6 separate regions of the Homo sapiens genome follow, and regions 1, 2, 3, 5 and 6 are each linked to region 4. The links are contacts of gene promoters, found by promoter capture Hi-C in blood cells and fetal thymus (Javierre and others, 2016). All regions are on one chromosome and are shown on one strand. Each heading gives the region's core, a stretch centred on a gene start or on the middle of the fragment in contact. The rest is flanking DNA. Distances are from core to core; before and after follow the strand shown. Region 1 overlaps ALDH1L2 (aldehyde dehydrogenase 1 family member L2). Region 2 overlaps ALDH1L2 (aldehyde dehydrogenase 1 family member L2). Region 3 overlaps APPL2 (adaptor protein, phosphotyrosine interacting with PH domain and leucine zipper 2). Region 4 holds the start of EID3 (EP300 interacting inhibitor of differentiation 3). Region 5 overlaps NOPCHAP1 (NOP protein chaperone 1). Region 6 overlaps ALDH1L2 (aldehyde dehydrogenase 1 family member L2).

Region 1 (3,153 bases), core at 351-2,850, 720 kb after region 4:
GGGCGGGCCATGGATAGTTTTGGAAAAGGCAACATTCGAGCAGGAAAATGGGAATGCATGTTCTCATTTTGGGCTGTGGTTCCACGCTTAAGAGTGGGGCCCTCGCTGGGGACCCATCCTCTTCTGCTCAGAATTTTCCTGCCTCCTGTCCCTATCATTATGATGGGATATGATTCCTGGAACTCCTTTCTCGTGGCCATGAATGGAGCCAGCTCTTGAGGGTAAAGTGAGCACACTACAGATAGCAGACAAGAGCAAAGAACATTATAGAGTCACTGCATCAAATAACTTGTATACTGCACTATTGCTGGGCTCTGTTTTTGGTGGCAGAATAAATTTCCTTATTTTTTTTTCAAAAAAGCCTATCACCTTGTGAGATATGCTTATATTCACTTCACAGCTGAGAAAATTGGCATAGAGATACTAATTGCATAACTTGTAATACACAATGTTGGCAAAGATGTGGGAAAATTGTTGGTGGGATTATTGATTCAGGAATTCCACTTCCAGGTATTTGTTCTAATTACATAAGTGTAGCTTTGGTCATAAATTTTATATAAGATTTTTTGTGACATTTAAAATAGCAAAAAGCAAATCTAAATGTCCGACGATAGACAACATGTTGAATTAAAGCCATTGAAATATGCAGAATTGTGTTTATTGGCATAGATGCTTATGATATATTGTTAATTGAAAAAGCAGGTAACAAATTAATATACAGTATTATGTTAATTATGTAAAAAAAGTATACATATTCATAGAAAAAGTTTGGAACAATCTCAGATATCATCTGTAGGCTATTTCTGTTTGAAAATAACCAAATAGATTTTTGGGTTGACTCAACAAATTATGGTTGAGTCAGTCTTACTTTCCTATTTTATAAATGTTTTTTACATCATTGGGTATTTAATCATTTTAAAAATCTACTCAGGCATCATTTGTATAATAGTAATAATAATTTAATCCCCCTTATTTCTCATGTCTCATGCCTTATCCATCATCCCTCATATCCTACTCTTAGCCCAGATTTTCCTTGACAGCTTTATTTTCTTGGAGGGCAGGTATGGGGAACCAAATTTGTTTCCTTACCCTAGCTCTAGCCATTTCCACAAAAGCTTTTATAGATAATGTCCATTTTGCTTATTATTTTTAGTTTAACCAATACTTAATATGTGCCCACAGCTCACTACCTAGGCCCTGATTTAGGCATTAGGAATAAAAACTATCTCGACTTAGTTAAAACCACCAGATGCATTGCTTGAAAACCTGTTCTGCCACTTAATAGCTGTGTGATTTGAGCAGGTTACTTAACCTCTCCATTTGAAAGCAAACATTTATTGGGCTCCTGTTACACATTAGGACTGGAGATACAGTATTAAAACAAGTACCTGTTCATGAAACTTACATTCTAATGGGAAAAGATCATTGATTAATATACAACAGGTAGTGATAAGTGCTATGAAAATAATGCACTTATAAAAAGAATAAAGAATGACAGCAGATGGGGTATGAATGTGGGGGCATATGGCCTATTTTAGAAAGCATAGTCAGGGAATGTGTCTCTCATCAGATGATATTTGAGGAGAGACCTGCAGGAAGTGAGCCAGCCAGCCATGAGGTTGTGTATGGACAAGAGTTGCAGGAAGAGGCAGTGGTGTGCTGGTGCTGGCTTGCATTTGTTCTGATGGCATGCATCTCTTCCCAAACTCTGTATTCAGTGAAGGCAAATTAGTGGCTCAAAAATAGCCTTGATGAGAGTATTTACACATAGATACCTGCAAATGCTACAAATGAGGGTTTTCTCCCCCGTCCCGGAGAACTATTTGTTAAATATTTTACCAGCACACCCCTGGGAAGAGGAAGAATAAGGACAGAGGCCCTGAGGCAGGAGCAGGCTTGTTCTGTTGAGGAAGTCAAGGCAGTCAGGATGGTGGAACAGAATGAGAGGGAAATTGACAGGAGATGAGGTCAGAGGTAGCTAGGAGCAAGATCAGTAGGCCAGGTAAATACGTTGGACTTTGGTCTACGTGAAATGGGGGCCATTGAAAGGTTTTAAACAGACGAGTGAAGTGACACTGTCTGACTTAAGCTTTGAACAGGACCGCAGAAGAGAGGAATCCAGAAGACCAGTTGGGAGACTTGAGCAAAATTGTAGGAAAGAGGTAACAGGCCAGGTGCAGTGGTTCATGCCTGTAATCCCAGCACTTTGGGAGGCGGAGGCAGGTGGATCACTTGAGGTCAGGAGTTCAAGACCAGCCTGGCCAACATGGCGAAACCCCATCTCTACTTAGCCAGGTGTAGTGGCACACACCTGTAATCCCAGCTACTTGGAAGGCTAAGGCATGACAATCGCTTGAACCCAAGAGGCAGAGGTTGCAGTGAGCCAAGATTGCACCACTGCACTGCAGCCTGGGCAACAAGAGCAAAACTCTGTCTCAAAAAAAAAAAAAAGTAATAATGGCTTAGGGGTAGAGGTAGTAAGAAAAGCACGTTGATTTCTTCATTTTTTTCAGAGATTGTGAAGATTAAATAACATTTAAAACATGCTTAGCCTAAGGTCTTTCATACAGGAGGCCCTTAATAAATGGTAGCTGTCATATCGTATTATTATTGACAGAAGGCCCATACTGGAGTTGGGGAGGGTTGTTCATATCTAATTAAGAAGGCAAGTAATTTTAGTACAAGTGGTAAGTGCTATGTTTGAAACAAGTGGGAACGCTGAGGAGAAACACTTAGCCCAGCTAGGGTAGGAAGGTCCAGGAAGGGTGTTAGAGCAAAAGGGACAGCTTTAGCAAAGGCATGGGGATGGGGAATTAGAAGGAAAGTGGAACTGCTTAAAGTGTCCACACCTCCCGATTCAGGTGATAATAAGATCACAGCTTCATCCTTAGCATTATTAGCAAAATAATCCGTGATCTAAAGCAACAGCGATGATTTTATTACTCTATGTGTTAAGTAAATCACCTAGCAGGCTGGGGAGGGTGATGTTCCAATTCCAGTTCACTTGGTAACTTTATGTATTACACAGAGCCTTTGATTCTGATCAGCCAGATCTAAAAATGTAAGCTGGTAAGAAATGTTTAAAACTTGCTATGGAGAAAGGAGTTCTTAATCTGGGGCCCAAGCATGGCCTTTGGGAGGTCTGTGAACCCT
Region 2 (3,159 bases), core at 316-2,815, 760 kb after region 4:
GGGGGAATAAAGAGACCCTCACAATATATGATGTGCGATGCCAGAGGTAGGCAGAGTGTTGCTGGAACCCAGAGATGGGCCATCAGACCCTGCCAGTCTGGGCATGTGAGATCAGGAAACCTCCCCGAAGAGGTGAAACCTGAGAGCCTGGGCTGAGTCAATTACCCATGGATAGAAGACCCTTCAGGCCCTGCCCGCCTCTCCCGCCTCAGCTCTCCCCATGCCTGTCCTCACAGTTCAGACCCTGGCTTCACTGAACTCCTTTTGCAAGTCCTTGACCAGGTGCTGGAGTCTCTTATCTCTGGGGCTTCACCTACTTGTCTTGCTCTCAACCTGGTTAACTCTTCTCGAGCAAAGCAGTGAGCTTTTCTAGGAAGCCTTTCCTAACATGCCTGAGTCTCAGCCTCCATGATAGCGTTTATCTTACTGCACTGAGAATGTTTATTCACTTCTCTGCACTCCCCATAAAACTGCAGGCTCCTTAGATCAGGCGCTGGATTTAGTGTCTGCTGCACAATAAATGCTTAATACATGCTGAGTAAAGGGGAGAGTGAATCACAGACCTGCCTCATGACCAAGGAAGAACCATGGGAAGCCCAGATTTATCTGTAATATCTCTTACAAAGGTAATAATCGGGGAGGGGGGTGGGGGGAGTGGTCCCTAAAACATACCTGTCCATTTATCTCTGTCCAAGCTCCAGGGACTTTATCATGACCTCGAATCCAGTTATGTAAAACTTCGGCAGACTGGTCCCAAGAAATCTAGGAAGGCACAAAATACAGGCTGAGCCTCCTATGGCTGTGAACCTCAAAGGCAATAAAAACGCTTCTCGTCATCAGAGGCAGAAACACTTGTTATTGGGAAATAAAGGAATTTTTGCTTCTTAGTTTTATTTGGAGTAAGTATTTTGTCAGGTGGCTGATTTAGTAAACAAGAGACTTTATTAAAGGAAAATAAAAAGCAGAGGGTTATTTAAAGGGACAGTATGCTTTGTAAAGATGAAGTAGAGCGGGCTGTTGAGGGGAGTAGGCCAGTAGCTGTTGGAGAGTTTTATGTTGGGTTTTTATTAGGTTGAACTTTTTTTTGAAGTTCCCACCTCTGTTAAGTCTCTGCCTCTTTTTTTTTTTGTCTAGTTTGTTTGTGTCTGTCTTAGCTCTCTGCTTTGTCCGCACCTAGATTTTGTCTCAGGTTTATGGGACCCTCCATATTATTAGTTGGTGTGTATGTGTGGATTGGTGTTGGATATGAATATTACCTGATGCCTGTGTTGTTTACTATTGTCACTGCAGGGAGGTTGTATAGTGGCCAAATCTATACCTACTGCATCTGTGTGTTTTTTTGGAATTTCCTTCTCTGCCCTAAGCTGAACTTATGGCTCCAGGTTTTTGTTTTTTGTTTTTTGAGACAGGGGTCTCACTGTGTTGGCCAGGCTGGTCTCGAATGCCTGGTCTCAAGTGATCCTCCTCCCTCAGCCTCCCAAAGTGCTGGGATTACAGGCATGAGCCACTGTGCCCAGCGCACCTAGCATGCCAGATTTTTTAAGGAATATCCCCTTTGCCCTTTTCATTAGCATGTAGCTAGTGATATTTTGACATTTTAACTGCAGAGCGAAGGATTGTTGGGCAGACTGAAGAGGCGTTTCTGGGCATTTTTTATTTGCTTGTTTGTTTGTTTGTTTGCATAGTATCTCCTCTCCTTTCTATGCACATTTGACTAAGTGCCCACCCACTCCAGCATTAGAGATACTATTAATATGCAAATTTTGAGTGGTCTTCCAGACACGAGTCTTCCTAGACTTTATTTTCTTTAGGGGACTCCCCTCTCCTGCGTATGTCTGGCTACCTGTCTACTCTAACAGGTAGGGCTAGGGCAAGCTGGCTTACCTTTTGGCAAGATCATAGTATGTGGGGAACTACTGAAGGGTAGAGGGCCATGAACTCTGAGACGTGTTATTGAGTTGATATATAAATACCTCAGCATTTTCCTTTTTCTGGATACCTTCATATGTTGCCCCTTCTTCTGGCTGGGGTATACGAGGAGCTTTTCCATCAGCTATGAGTTGGACAGCTTCTACCTAAGGCCAAAGACATCACCTGTGTTACAGCCCAATGATCAACAATGGCATGGTCTATTTGACTAAAGTTTCTGCATAACAGAATTACTACCTATAAACCTGTTCAGAGAGTCAAGAGTATGATGATAACTACCATTTCTTCAGGTCCATCCTGACAAGCAGTGTGGTAGCTACTTTATGTAAAATATCCCTTGAAAACATAACACAAATCCTGCAAGGTGTATATTGTTATTCCTGTTTTACACCTGAGGAAACTGACAGAAAAAGAGCTAAGCAAGGCCGGGCGCAGTGGCTCACGCCTGTAATCCCAGCACTTTGGGAGGCCAAGGCAGGCGGATCACGAAGTCAGGAGATCGAGGCCACGGTGAAACCCCGTCTCTACTAAAAATACAAAAAATCAGCCGGGCGTGGTGGTGGGCGCCTGTAGTCCCAGCTACTCAGGAGGCTGAGGCAGGAGAATGGCGTGAACCCGGGAGGCAGAGCTTGCAGTGAGCCGAGATCACACCACTGCACTCCAGCCTGGGCGACAGAGCGAGACTCTGTCTCAAAAAAAAAAAAAAAAAAAAGAAAAGAAAAAGAAAAAGAGCTAAGCAATTGGCTGAAGATCACAGAGAGAGCTTGTAGGTGTCAGAAACAGGATTTGTATCCAGGTCTATCTATTGCCAATCGAAGTCTGCACTCTCAAAAATGACTCCCTTGTTTAAACAAACTGCCACCTCCCTTAGTGATTCACTGGAAATGATAGGAATATAATGATAAAATAAGTCTTTATGAGTTATTTTACTCATCATGATGATTCTAAAAAATGATACCTTACTGTATTTAATGAATTCAACTTGCTTTCTAGTTTAGGAGACCTGGAATAAAAAAAGTTAAAATCTATCCATGAGCTTGATTGCCTTTGGGAGGTGTCCTGCATTTTCTTCTCTGTTATATTTACGTTTGCCTTGAGTCGAGAGCCTCCCATTTTCACTGCGAGGCCCACGTGAGTTCAAGTTCTCAGATTTCTCTCTAAGGACTCACAGCTGCTGACCAACCCACCCAAGAGCACACGGAGGGAGCCACAGGGGAACAGAGCCAAGTT
Region 3 (3,347 bases), core at 270-2,769, 870 kb after region 4:
AAAATCATTATACTAGTTTGATAGGGAGGAGGGATGGGGGAGTGGGCTGGGGTTCCAGGAATTGGAAGTATCAGGGTGGAAATAGGAACTTTATACCAAGCCCCATGACCAGCTGTGCTTCAAGTGAGTTTTAAAATTAATTGGTCCCTTCCCTGAAGAGGGTCTGGCTCAGAAGAAACAGGAACTGGTAGAGCTGCACCCTGTCCACAGTGATCCACTACTAAAAATACTCATACCTAGGAGGACCTTAAACTTCTGAATGCTGGTTCAGTAAGGCTCCACTGTAAAATCAAACATCTTTTGTGGTATTCATTTTTTTATTGCTTGATGTCTGGAACAGTTACCGAAACTAGACCTGTATCGCGCATCTCTACTAGTGCTTGGGCCTCAAAGCAGTGCTCATCACCTAACTGCACAAAGAAATGCTATTAGGTCCAATTATGAGATAAGCTGAATTATAAATACACAATTTTCAGAACGACAGGCACTTAAAGCTCATTAAGTAAAATACAAAAATAGATTATATTAATAAGAAATATTTAGTGTTCATCAAATTGTAAATCTAGGCTTTTGCCATTTTTTAAAAAGGATACTGGAAACTGAAAAGAGATGACATTCATATGAACAATGCATTTTTCAAACTTTTGTTCTGAGCGCTGAACAATCTAAGAAATTTTAGCGCAATCTAAGAAAAAAGACTTACCACAAAGCACCTAAAATAACATTGTAGATGGGTGGGAACGCTGTCAACCATTTCTTAGTTTCCCTCCCAAGTCTCAGTATCAAGGCATCAAGATTACATTCCACAAACGATTGTCAGCCTTCGGAAATCAGGTCAGTGTGCCTGTATGTCAGAGACGTTAAAACCCTTAGGAGGTAGCTCTCCTTCCTGTTTGCTCTTCCCCCACAGGCGCAAGTGAGTTATGCTTCGGATTCTGCGCCTCTATGTTCGTTTGGATTTCCATCATCGTCATCTGGTTGATCGTTTAACAGTACATATTTTCCGTCATTGGTTAGTGGTATGGACAGCATTAATTGAGCCAGTGCTTCTGGATCCTGAAGTTAGGAGAGTTTAAAAGGGAAAAAAGAAAAGGCTTAAGATGCATTTAAACCCCTTTGGCCTGGCTTTCAATATGTTCTGTAATCTAGTCTTGTTTCTCCTGACTCTTGTGTATATGTGCCTTCCGCTGAGTCTCCTTGCTTCTCAAACTCAGGCATGTCACTTCTAGAATCTAGACTGTTTTCCTCTGAGCCAAAATATTGTTTACGTAGTCAATTCGTATCATCTTCCCAAAGATTCCACAGAGGAACTTCCTTCACAGAACTTTTGTCTTCTCTATCTTTAAACTCCTTCTTTTCTCACGTTTAATCTATACCAGAAGTTGGCAAACTATGGTCATTTGGCTAACCATTTGATTTTTATTGGAAAACAGCTGCGGCCATTTATTTACATACTGTCCATGCTGCTGCTGCTTTTTTTTGGTGGGGGGGGGGGTGGTGCGGCGGTTGGAGACAGAGTCTCGCTCTATCGCCCAGGCTGGAGAGCAGTGGTATGATCTCAGCTCACTGCAACCTTCGCCTCCCCGGTTCAAACGATTCTTGTGCCTCAGTCTCCCGAGTAGCTGGGACTACAGGTGTGCACCACCACACCCGGCTAATTTTTGTATTTTTAGTAGAGATGGGGTTTCACCATGTTGGCCAGGCTGGTCTTGAACTCCTGACCTCAGGTGATCCTCCTGCCTCTGCCTCCCAAAGTGCTGGGATTACAGGCATAAGCCACCATGCCTGGCCTGCTTTTGTCTTATGATAGCAGAGTTGAATCTGTTGCAAGGGAGATAGCCAAAAACATAAAGACCCTTTATAGAAAAAGTTTGCCAACTTTTGACCAATACCATTAAATACTAGCTTACAGTGCTTGCCACTATTTCATGTATGTGGCCTTAGTCCTTGGTCTTTCTGACCTCTCCAAGACTGAACTGCACTAATATGGTAGCCACTGGCTACATGTTACTATGTAAATTTGAGTTAAATTTAAAAATCCAGTTCCTCAGTCACACTTGCCATATTCAATCTGCATATTAAATTGTGCAGATATAAATCATTTCCATTATTGCAGAAAGTTCTGTACATTGCTGAACTAGAAGCCCCCTGGGGGCAGGGACTATATCTGTCTTGTTCAATTACACAAACTAGGCTCTCAAAAATTTGCTGAATGAACAAAAGATTAAAAGCTGCTGAAAGACAGGGAGGTCTCAGAATCCTCATTTCTTAAAAGCTCCCAGGTGACGTCTGTCAATGCTGTGGGGCATGTGATCATACTCTGAGGAGCAAGGCCTTAGAGCAGCACACGGTGGGTACTTATCTATCATCTTAATCTGAAAGAGGAAATCTAGCCAACTAGTATGCAAGCAAGAAAACAGATAAGCAGGAGCTCCAGCAGTGATAAGAAGTCCTCATGTGTTAACAGTGAACATGGAACTAGCTGATCAAAAACCTCTGGTGGTTAGAATACTTTTAAAAGGAAATCCCAAACTTGGCCACACTTTCCAGTGAACATCACTTTTCTTTTTGAAAAGACTCTTGGTATGTGTACACAGATGTGTTTTGAGTAGCTACTAAACCAGCGCTAGAATGCATCTTACCTTCTGAACCTCAATAATTTCTTTTCCCAAATTAATAGCATAACATATCTGCAAAAGACAAGAAAAGTAGTGATTGGCAAAAGTAGAGAAGGATAAAATTTTAGAACAAATGTGATTTGGGAGTACAGTGAGGTCACTGTTCTCACTGTTCCCACTTGGGAACACAGGACCTGGCTGCAGGAGACTCATCACATAGGGCCCGGGGCATTTGCGTCCAACTGTCCTGACCTCTGTTGCCAATTTATGCCACACAAAAAATATTCCAGGTAAGTGAAACTCAGGTAATTCCAGTGTTAAAAGTTCTTAATAGGAATTTTTCTTCTCTCTCTTAAATGTATTTAGCCACGATATGTCCATATACACAGTGGCAAACAGATAATTTACTGAAAGGATTGGTTAATTGTGATAAATTCTAAGTAGCAGATAGAGTCAAAAGTTTTTCATACTAAACCAACAGCTTGTGTGTAACTTTTCTAATATCTTCCTTGGTTTTCTCTCTGAGACTAAATTATTCTCTATTGTAGCTTTTGCCTTAATTTTTTTTAAAGAACAAATTTGAGGGGAACTGCTTTCAACATTTCCTTATATCCCGACTAAATAATATGTCTTGCCATGAAATTTCTTCCTCATTCACCCTATTCTGGTTGATAGGTATTTTCCACAGAGAAATTTAAATCGAGTTTTCTTTCAGTGAGGCCTTCTTAG
Region 4 (3,077 bases), core at 305-2,804:
TAAAATAATTGGGAGCAAATGGTAATATAAGGATTTTGGAGTAACTTAATACTACTAGATTTTGCTGTTTATACATTTACAAAAAACTTTCTGCTAATGCTAAAGAAATAGAACAAGTCTATATGCATAAAGGAAGGTAGGGCTAATTTACTTCCTGGTGCTATGAAACTGGCAATTGGACAGGTGCAATTGTGGGTGTCTTTTTTTTTTTAAGGTGTACCTGTTGCAGGTTTGAAAAGCTGTTGATGCTCATGGGTTGTTTGTGTGCATGTTCTCTTTAAAAACCAGATGTATTCATTCCCTTTTTTTTTTTTTTTTTTTTTGAGACGGAGTCTCGCTCTATAGCCCAGGCTGGAGTGCAGTGGCCCGATCTCGGCTCACTGCAAACTCCGCCTCCTGGGTTCACGCCATTCTTCTGCCTCAGCCTACCGAGTAGCTGGGACTATAGGCGCCTGCCACCGCGCCCGGCTAATTTTTTGTAGTTTTAGTAGAGACGGGGTTTCACCGGGTTAGCCAAGATGGTCTCGATCTCCTGACCTCGTGATCCGCCCGCCTCGGCCTCCCAAAGTGCTGGGATTGCAGGCGTGAGCCACCGCGCCCGGCCATTCCCATTGTTATGTATACTTTGCTATTTGCTGCTGGTGAGACAGATAAGGAGTCACGTCTTTAACTGCACTTGAGTTTCCAGTGACCCCATTAAATCCAATGGGTAAATTTTCCCACGCAGATTACTCACCCAGTTTACAGATTAAGCTTTCATATCCTTAGACTGTATCTGAAATTTTCATAGCTTTGCCCACCTTTTAGGGTTCAGAGTTACTACCCATTCAGTGTCGGTGGCCTTTAGCTGTTGGCAAGCTTCCAAGTAAATAGCTCTTTTGCAGAGATCTCTACCCATTCTATTCTTCCACTCCTGGGTAGTGGAGAACCAAAGTTCACCTGAGTAATGCCCGTGCCCAGCACCCAGTTTCCTGCAGGGGTTAGCACGGATATTGGAGGCTCCCCCGATCCCACAGATACTCAGGATGGGTATTGGAGGGGGCTTGGTTTTTAAGAGGACATGTGAAAGTAATTAACCCGATTTACATTTGTATAATGAGTCCAAACACCACCTTGCAAAAGAACTGAGAGTTTAGCCTGCTTAATGGAGTTTCTGCTTTTCACGGTCCTTGGCCTTACCGACGGTTTACAGTCCAGCCAGATTTAGTTCACAAAAAACCAAAACCAGGTCGACCTCACTGCAGTATATGATGGCAGCGAGCGTTTTAAAGCGCAGGACCTTTAGTCTCCTCAATAGTTTTGTGTAAAGTTGTCCAAAAGTGTTTTTTTTTAAAGTGAGGTGATCCAGTCGGTAAACGCTTTGAAAAAGAATAGCTGTCCCCTGAGCGGGCATTAGTCGCGTGTGAGGTCAGGGCCCATCATTGCGCGTGTTGGGAGCGCCGCGCTGGTCTATGAGCGAGCGCCTCGGCTTGTGGCTGGGCCGGGCCGGGGCGGGGCTGTCTTCCCGCGGAGCGTGCTGGGGGCGGGTCGCGCCGGGCCGGGCCGCTAGTGCGCATGGGCGGGCGTCCTCGGCTCTAACTGCCGCCACTTTCCACACGCTGGGAGGGCCGTTACCTCAGAGATACCCGTGGCCGGCATGTTGGTTGAAAAAGCTTCCCGGAAGGGAGACGAAGAGAAAGGAGAGGAGCAGCTCGTGATCATCCCCGGTAGCGAGTACGCGGCGAAGTAGGCGGCGGCGGAGGGAGCGCTGATGAAGATGGATGTGTCAGTGAGGGCCGCGGGCTGCTCCGACGACCTCAGCTCTGGGGAGGCCGACGTAGACCCAAAGCTCCTGGAGCTCACCGCTGACGAGGAGAAGTGCCGCAGCATCCGCAGGCAGTACCGGCAGCTCATGTACTGCGTGCGGCAGAACCGGGAGGACATCGTGAGCTCGGCGAACAACTCCTTAACCGAGGCTCTGGAGGAAGCCAACGTCCTCTTTGATGGCGTGAGCCGAACCAGAGAAGCAGCCCTCGACGCCCGGTTTCTTGTTATGGCTTCTGATTTGGGTAAAGAAAAGGCAAAGCAGTTAAACTCAGATATGAACTTCTTTAATCAGTTAGCATTTTGTGACTTTCTGTTTCTGTTCGTGGGTCTGAATTGGATGGAAGGCGATCCTGACAAGTTGAGTGATTGTGATGATAGCATAGCTCTTTCCTTCTGGAAGGCAATAGAAAAGGAAGCAACATCCTGGATGGTAAAAGCTGAGACATTCCATTTTGTTTTTGGTTCATTCAAGCTAGAACGTTCTGCACCAAAGCCCCGACTTGAACACCAGAAAAAAGTTCGCAAGATGGAAGAAAATGGCAACATGCCTACAAAGTTGCAGAAGTTGGACCTGAGTAGTTATCCAGAAGCGACAGAAAAAAACGTAGAAAGGATTTTGGGATTGTTGCAAACCTACTTTCGAAAGTATCCTGATACTCCTGTGTCCTATTTTGAGTTTGTGATTGATCCAAACTCTTTTTCTCGTACTGTGGAGAATATATTTTATGTTTCTTTTATTGTAAGAGATGGTTTTGCAAGAATAAGGCTTGATGAAGACAGGCTGCCAATATTAGAGCCGATGAATGTTAACCAAATGGGTGAGGGAAATGATTCCAGTTGCCATGGCAGGAAACAGGGAGTTATATCTTTGACTTTACAGGAGTGGAAAAACATTGTGGCAGCTTTTGAAATTTCTGAGGCTATGATTACATACTCCTCATACTAAAGATTTCTTAGTATAGCATCCTTTTTGTGTTTTTTTTCTGAAGTTAGATGGAGAGTAAAATGTAAACTGAAGCACATATTGTATCTCTTGTAAAGTGAAAAAGTATTTTCAAGAACATCAGACATTGTTTTACTGTGCAGCATATTTTTCTTAGTAATTTATAAGGTCATGATCTTCTGTTATTAAAACAAATTCACTGGCATATTTATGGGAACGTTTTATTGAATGCCCTTTAAGACTATTAATAAAAACAAGTTTTGGATACCAAATTAAGGGATATTTGATAATTTGCAAAACATAATAATTTACGAAAATCAGTGATGAT
Region 5 (3,205 bases), core at 592-3,091, 700 kb after region 4:
TCCCCAAGTCTTGAGTATGTGATACCTGGAAGCATAATATACCTTTTGTAGGCATCACTTGGTTTGATGTTCTATATTTGATAGTGGTTAGGTTATTAATTGGAAAGGTTGGGATATTCCTTTCAGTGAGTGTAGGCAAGCAAATAGCAGTGACATTTAGAACATCAAGGATTGCTTTCTCTTCCTTTGGGGTTTCAGGGTAATTCTCTTCGGGAACTCAGAGAGGTGTTGGCATTAGTGGAGTTGTTTCCTGGTTTTTACCCATTAGCCCACAAACCCAAACAGTTGCTCTGTTTTTTCTGCTAGAGCATGAGCCTTACCTAAAGCCATTGCAAATTATGGTCCTATGGATTTTCCTGTAAGGAAAAGGAAAGATTAAGACAATAGGAAATAAGGGAAAAAGAAAAGGGACATAGTTATCATGATGACAGAGAAGAGAACTCTTGATCCATGATCAAATTCTTACCACCCATACTGCAGCAAAAGTCTTGAGGGTCTGAACTTTTGCTGCAGTGTGGATGGTAAGAATTTGGTATGGTCCCTTCCATAGGGGTTTGAGGGCAGTGTTTCACTGATGTTGTTTTCAGAAGACCCAATCTCCATGTTCCAGATTGTGAAATGCTTGGTTGTCCTCCATTGATAGATCGTGAAAGGCTTTTTTTTTAACCTGGTGAAAATATACTTTGGCATAATACATTAAGGCCTTGCAGTATTTAGTCATGTCAGTTTACAGGAGCAGGAGATATATGAGGTTTAATTATTAGGGGCATAGGTTTTTCAGTAACTATTTCATAAGAAACTAATTTATTTTGTATTTTCTGTTGGGGTGGATCTAGTTGCCCATAAGGCCAATGGTAATACCTTTGGACGAGGCAATTCAATCAATTCAGTTAACTTTACCAATTTCAGTTTAAAGTTTCATTTGTTCTTTTGAGCTTTCCAGAAGATTAAGGGTGTTAGGGATGATGGTAATACCATTGTGTTCGATTAACTGTTTTAGCTGTTTTATAACTTGTCCAGTGAAACAGGTTCTTCTATTGCTGGAAATTCCTCCAGGGAAGCCCCAGAAGGAAACATACTTTCTAATAACTTATTGTCATAGCATTGGCCTTCCTACATGATAAAGCTTCTATCCGTCTAGAGAACACAAAGACTTTTATAAGAACATATTGTTATCCCATTAAGGGTGGCAATTGATGAAATCCATCTGTAAACATTCAAATGGTCCAGGAGGCAGTAGAAATGTACCACCTAAAATTTGGATTATCTTTCCAGGATTATGAGCTTGATAAACCAAACATTAGTTATAAGCCATTTTAGCAATTTTAGAATAGTCATCCCACCAATATTTTTTCAATTTCTGCCTTTAGAGAGCATAACAGTTCTGGTTCAGGAGAGTCAGGAAACTCTAAGATTATTTGTCCCTCTGAAAGAGAATTTTATATGCCCTTTTGCCTTGGAGAGCAAGTCTTGCCCCAGCAGATTTACTGGGGCAGTATCACATAATTAAAAAGTATGATTTTCTGTAAATGACACCAGTGTCAGTTGGATGGCTTCCAGTATGGGAACCTTTTCAACTTGATTTGAAACCCTACCACAGAAATAATGTTTCCACAGAGTAAACATTTTTACTCTGAGGGATGTATTAGCTTATTAAGGTAGAGTTTATAGTAGATGAAAGTGGCTCTAGTATCCACCAGAATTGTATAAGATTTTTCATTTGTTTTAACTTTTGTTTTTCCATGTTTATTTCTTTTCTTTTTTTAATAGTACTTTGAGTTGCTGTTTATCCATGTTTATTTAAAGGTATTATGGGGAGCAGTTTTCTGGAGAATTCCTTGGATGCTCATCAATGTTGATTATTATCTCTAGAGTTAAGACCTTGTGGACTCATTCTAGTGGGGAAATAGTATGGCCCCAAGGAAGGAGGCTTACTGGTATACTGAAATAAGAATGCAAAATCTCTTTTCCAGCATCCTAGTTGTTTGCAATGAAGGGAGACACCTTAGGGCAAATAATTTCTTGGTCTAAGATCTCTTGGTTTTAGCTTAAAATAAGGGAGAGGAAGTCCCTTTGGTCTTGGTCTTTGTGGTTATTGTAATTAGAGAGACATGAGCTTTTCGACCTTTAGTCTTTTACTTACTCTATTCTCTCAAAATGTTGGGCTAGGGCCACCAATTCAATCATATCTATAACCTCCCATCCTGGTTTGTGTTTTTTATTCAGGTTACTAAGTTCAGGATGAGCTCCATTTACAAATAGAGCAGTTAATCCTGTTTCAGGCACTGCCAGAAGTATCCCTTGGTGTATTGGAACCTGGAATGTTTTACAAATAGTCTTTCTGAATGGACCCTGTAATCTGAAACTGGTTCATTCTATTTTTTGTCTATGAGATTGTATGATGGACCAATCAATTTTTTGTAGCAAAATCTTAGGAATTGAATTTTAAAGGTTTTCAACAATTTTTCTAGGTCTCATTGGCCCTACTCTTGATGAGGTTTTGGGGGAGTCTTTAATATCCTGATTAAGTTTTTCCCATTCTCTTGTCATACATTTTCAAGCTTTGCCATGTCCCAGTATCATATGAATAAATTGGTCAGAGAGTCCTGGCTTGTAAGCTCCTGTGCAAATTCTAAAATCTTCAGTACATTTTTGAGTGTTTTCCCTGGGCTAGGGAAGTCTTTTACCGTGTCTGGAAGCTTAATTTTTGACCATGGAGTAAAGGTGGTTATGGCAGGCAGGCCTGGCTGATCAGAGAATCCCATTTTGTAAGGCATTTGTCTAACTTGCCTTTTCTCATTATCTTTAGAATGAAAGAGTAGTTGAGCAAAAAGGTTATTAGACTCAGAGTATTGAGGTAAAGATGGGTAAAGAGAAAGAACAAAACAGGTTTGAATCAGTCAAGATACAGTCTTTTTTTGTATCATCCTTAAGCTACTTAAGGTTTTCATTTGCCTTCTGTAAGGAATCTTTTACTACCTGTATGTACCAATTTAAAGAATGCATCTCATTGCTTATGAAGCATTTTGGATTCTTTCTTTTGTAGTGTGCCTTGCAAGTGAACAAGTTTATGTAGGTTAAAACTTTCCCACTGTGGGCCACTGGAATTCTAATTTTTTTTGTGTGTGTGTGAGTTTCATTTTTCTAGAAAAGCAACATGCCCTGAGTCTGTAGTTCTTATACACGAAATTGGCTATAGTTCCAG
Region 6 (3,058 bases), core at 174-2,673, 740 kb after region 4:
TATGTATTAGACATTTTCCATAATAAAAAAATTTCAAAAATGTTGTGGTCAAAAGTTAATTCAAATTCTTTAGAAATTTTGGTTACATAAAAGCCTGGCAAAAGAATTAAACCTCTAACCAGACTACCGAAGCATTGGGAGAAAAAATATCAATTTTTAAAAGTACGCTGCTTATTTTTCCTTTCTTACAAAAGTATTTTTATTTAAAGCATTTTGAAAATACCTACCCCAAAATGCAAACAGAAGAAAAAAATCACAAAATTCCATTCCATGCCTCAGTGACCATTGTTTTTACCATTTTGATATACTACCTATTTGTGATCTGTCCTACCATAGCTTTTGCGTTGTTTAACATAGTTGAGATCATCCAGTGTATACAATGTTATACTTTATTTTTATTTCCATTTATTATTTTAACAACACTTTTCAATGTTATTAAAATTCTCTATGAACATGACTGCACAGTGTTCCATTACATTGACATATTTTAACAACTGCTTTATTTTGGACATTTAGATTGCTTACAGCTTAAAAAAAAATTGCTTTGGCGGACTCCATTTATAAATAATCCAGGTTTGTCATATAAAATATATAAATTTCACATTTATGTATCTTTTTGGTTTTTTACCCATACTCTGAGAACAATTTGGGCCACAGCTTTAATACAGGAAGTCTTTTGTGCTGAATTGTTAAAACTACCAGTAGGGCACAGAATTTCAACATAGCTTTGGTTTTATTGACTCTGGGCTTTAATGCTTTGGAAAGTATTTTATTGTATTCAAATATTTCAATACTCAGCAGTGATAAGTAGATTTCCCTTCCAAAGTTGATGTAGTTTTTCTCACTCAAAAAGTACCCTGTTTAAACAAAAATTGAAACCTAGTTTAACAGGATCTGCAGTGAATCAACATTTTAAAACCAATACCTCTTCATGATCTGTTTGCCAATAGGAGTGGATCCAGTGAAACCAAGTTTGCGGATGTCAGGATGTTCAGACAGACGTTGTCCTGCTATGCCACCTGTAGAATTAGGGAATAAAACGGGAATTAAAACATACTCAAGGCCGGGCGCGGTGGCTTACGCCTGTAATCCCCGCACTTTGGGAGGCTGAGGCAAGCAGATCACAAGGTCAGGAGATCGAGACCCGCCTGACCACCATGGTGAAACCCTGTCACTACTAAAAATATAAAAATTAGCCAGGCATGGTGGCACACGCCTGTAATCCCAGCTACTCAGGAGGCTGAGAGAGAATCACTTGAACCCAGGAGGCGGAGGTTGCAGTGGGCCAAGATCGCGCCTTTGCACTCCAGCCGGGGCAACAGAGTGAGACTCCGTCTCAAAAAAAAAAAAAAAAAAAAAAAAAAACCTTACTCAAATTCTTATAGTGAAGATGGCTTTAAATTCATTGAAGTAGATTTCTAAGCTCTCCTTGACACCTTAGTTTTACATTTTCTGTATTAATTACAAACTGATAAAAGTCTGAAATAATACCCTTTATGAAATTATCAGACTCCCAAAATAATGATGGGTAAGCCTTGATTTTTATCTTCCAGAGTAGTTTTTGAAAATCAAAATGGAACATCTTAGGGTAATTTTACATGACTGTACAACCCCCCTCCCCACTGCCACTCACCCACCACTGTATTTCCATTTTAAGATTTTAGCACATGGTAAGTATATTCATCCTTAACTGTTTGGTGAATTGTATTTAGTTTTAATACAGTTATAATTCAGGACAAGTCTCTAGAGGTAAAAGAGCCACTCAGCTACCCCAGTACCATTCATTAGTTATAGCACAGTCGGTCATTTAGTGGCTTACCTGAGCCTGGAATGATGTTGATGACCCCCTTTGGAAAGCCTGCTTTCACAGACAGTTCTGCAAACTTCAAAGCAGTCAAGGGCGTGACCTGAGGAGAAGCAAACAGCAATTACCTTCTTCAGGCCCTAACCTGACCTTTAGCCCAGAACCCAGTTTTCCCTTGATAGCTGCACTAGATCTCATTTTATTTTTATTGTACATTGTCTTATTTTTTTGCCATAATTTCAGACTTACAAAAAGATGCAAAAATAGTACAAGTATTCCTTATATACATTTCCATTCAGATTCCTCAAATGTTAACATTTTACTGCATTTGCTTTATCTTTCTGTATATATTTTTCTAAACTATTTTTTAAAGATAAATTTAAGGAATATCTGTTTCTGAACTGTTTAAGAATACGGTAAAGACATACCCCATACTTCTAAATACTTCTGTGTGCATTTTCTATAAAACAAGAAATTCTTTTACATAACCATAGTACAATCATCAAAATCAGGAGATTAACAATTGATAGAATACATGATTTGCAGACCATATTCAGATTTCACCAATTATCCCAATAATGTCTTACAGCAAAAGAAAATCCAACATCTGCATTACATTTAGTTCTATCTGTAGTCTCCAGTAATCTAGGAGAATTTCTCAGTTCTCTTTTCTATTTCATTACACTGACATTTTTGAAGAGTACAGGCCAGTTATTTCATACAATGTCTCTTTGTCTGGATTTGTCTGATGTTTTTGCATGGTTAGATTCAAGTTATGCACTTTTGGGAACAATGCCACCGGAGCGATGCTGAGCTTTTCTCAGGACATCAGGAGGCACGTGCTGTAGAATAGTTCCAATACTGGAAAGTTAGTTTTGATTATTTGGCAAATGTGGTCTGCCAACTTTCATCACTGTAAATTACTATTTTATACATTGTAGTTAACAAATATTTTGTGGGGAGATACTCCTCAAATTTTTATCCACTAGTTTTAGTGTCCATGGATAATTTCTGGATAATAATCCTAAAGTATCATGATGGTTGCCAAATGGTGATTTTCCAATTCCCTCATTCCTTTTACGTGTAGTAGTTGGCTCTCTACTCTAAGTGTTTTCCATTCTGTTCAATTAATTAATATCAGTGTGAACACAAAGATTCTTACTGTAATCAGCAGGTTATCATCGTTTACTATTGTTACTGATTTTGATGTTCAATTGTTCTAGATTTGGCTGAGGCAGTCCCTTCAGTACGGCC

The links. The method cuts DNA at HindIII sites, captures the fragments that hold promoters and counts their contacts. A CHiCAGO score of 5 or more calls a contact.
Region 1: a fragment that was not itself captured here is called in contact with the fragment with the promoter of EID3 in region 4 in 1 of 17 cell types (M0 macrophages); the score reaches 5.8 in M0 macrophages.
Region 2: a fragment that was not itself captured here is called in contact with the fragment with the promoter of EID3 in region 4 in 2 of 17 cell types (M0 macrophages and naive B cells); the score reaches 5.4 in M0 macrophages.
Region 3: a contact is called between a fragment that was not itself captured here and the fragment with the promoter of EID3 in region 4, in 2 of 17 cell types (M2 macrophages and total B cells). The highest score is 7.8, in M2 macrophages.
Region 5: a fragment that was not itself captured here is called in contact with the fragment with the promoter of EID3 in region 4 in 2 of 17 cell types (M0 macrophages and naive B cells); the score reaches 5.6 in M0 macrophages.
Region 6: a contact is called between a fragment that was not itself captured here and the fragment with the promoter of EID3 in region 4, in 4 of 17 cell types (total CD4 T cells, monocytes, naive CD8 T cells and 1 more). The highest score is 7.0, in total CD4 T cells.

Annotation. Positions count from the first base shown.
Region 1 is chr12:105,019,148-105,022,300 of GRCh38, forward strand. ALDH1L2 (aldehyde dehydrogenase 1 family member L2) reads right to left here. Exons shown (of 23, transcript NM_001034173.4): 23 at 643-3,153. Among named protein-coding and RNA genes, the nearest start is that of NOPCHAP1, 34 kb to the left of the region's middle. The HindIII fragment of the contact is 974 bases long and covers 1,114-2,087 here.
Region 2 is chr12:105,064,595-105,067,753 of GRCh38, forward strand. It overlaps ALDH1L2 (aldehyde dehydrogenase 1 family member L2), which reads right to left. Exons shown (of 23, transcript NM_001034173.4): 5 at 1,974-2,075; 6 at 673-762. Among named protein-coding and RNA genes, the nearest start is that of ALDH1L2, 18 kb to the right of the region's middle. The HindIII fragment of the contact is 7,481 bases long and covers 1-3,159 here.
Region 3 is chr12:105,173,393-105,176,739 of GRCh38, forward strand. It overlaps APPL2 (adaptor protein, phosphotyrosine interacting with PH domain and leucine zipper 2), which reads right to left. Exons shown (of 21, transcript NM_018171.5): 20 at 2,643-2,690; 21 at 1-1,056. The coding sequence ends at 922. Among named protein-coding and RNA genes, the nearest start is that of APPL2, 61 kb to the right of the region's middle. The HindIII fragment of the contact is 7,746 bases long and covers 1-3,347 here.
Region 4 is chr12:104,302,185-104,305,261 of GRCh38, forward strand. EID3 (EP300 interacting inhibitor of differentiation 3) reads left to right here and starts at 1,555. Exons shown (of 1, transcript NM_001008394.3): 1 at 1,555-3,021. The coding sequence starts at 1,751. The coding sequence ends at 2,752. The region is part of intron 4 of TXNRD1 (thioredoxin reductase 1); the gene reads left to right. RefSeq lists a silencer at 1,393-1,622 and enhancers at 1,483-2,355, 1,663-1,902, 1,933-1,992. The HindIII fragment of the contact is 794 bases long and covers 857-1,650 here.
Region 5 is chr12:105,000,136-105,003,340 of GRCh38, forward strand. NOPCHAP1 (NOP protein chaperone 1) reads left to right here. Exons shown (of 4, transcript NM_152318.3): 4 at 1-3,205. Among named protein-coding and RNA genes, the nearest start is that of NOPCHAP1, 15 kb to the left of the region's middle. The HindIII fragment of the contact is 1,435 bases long and covers 1,125-2,559 here.
Region 6 is chr12:105,038,788-105,041,845 of GRCh38, forward strand. It overlaps ALDH1L2 (aldehyde dehydrogenase 1 family member L2), which reads right to left. Exons shown (of 23, transcript NM_001034173.4): 16 at 1,820-1,907; 17 at 926-1,019. Among named protein-coding and RNA genes, the nearest start is that of ALDH1L2, 44 kb to the right of the region's middle. The HindIII fragment of the contact is 6,154 bases long and covers 1-3,058 here.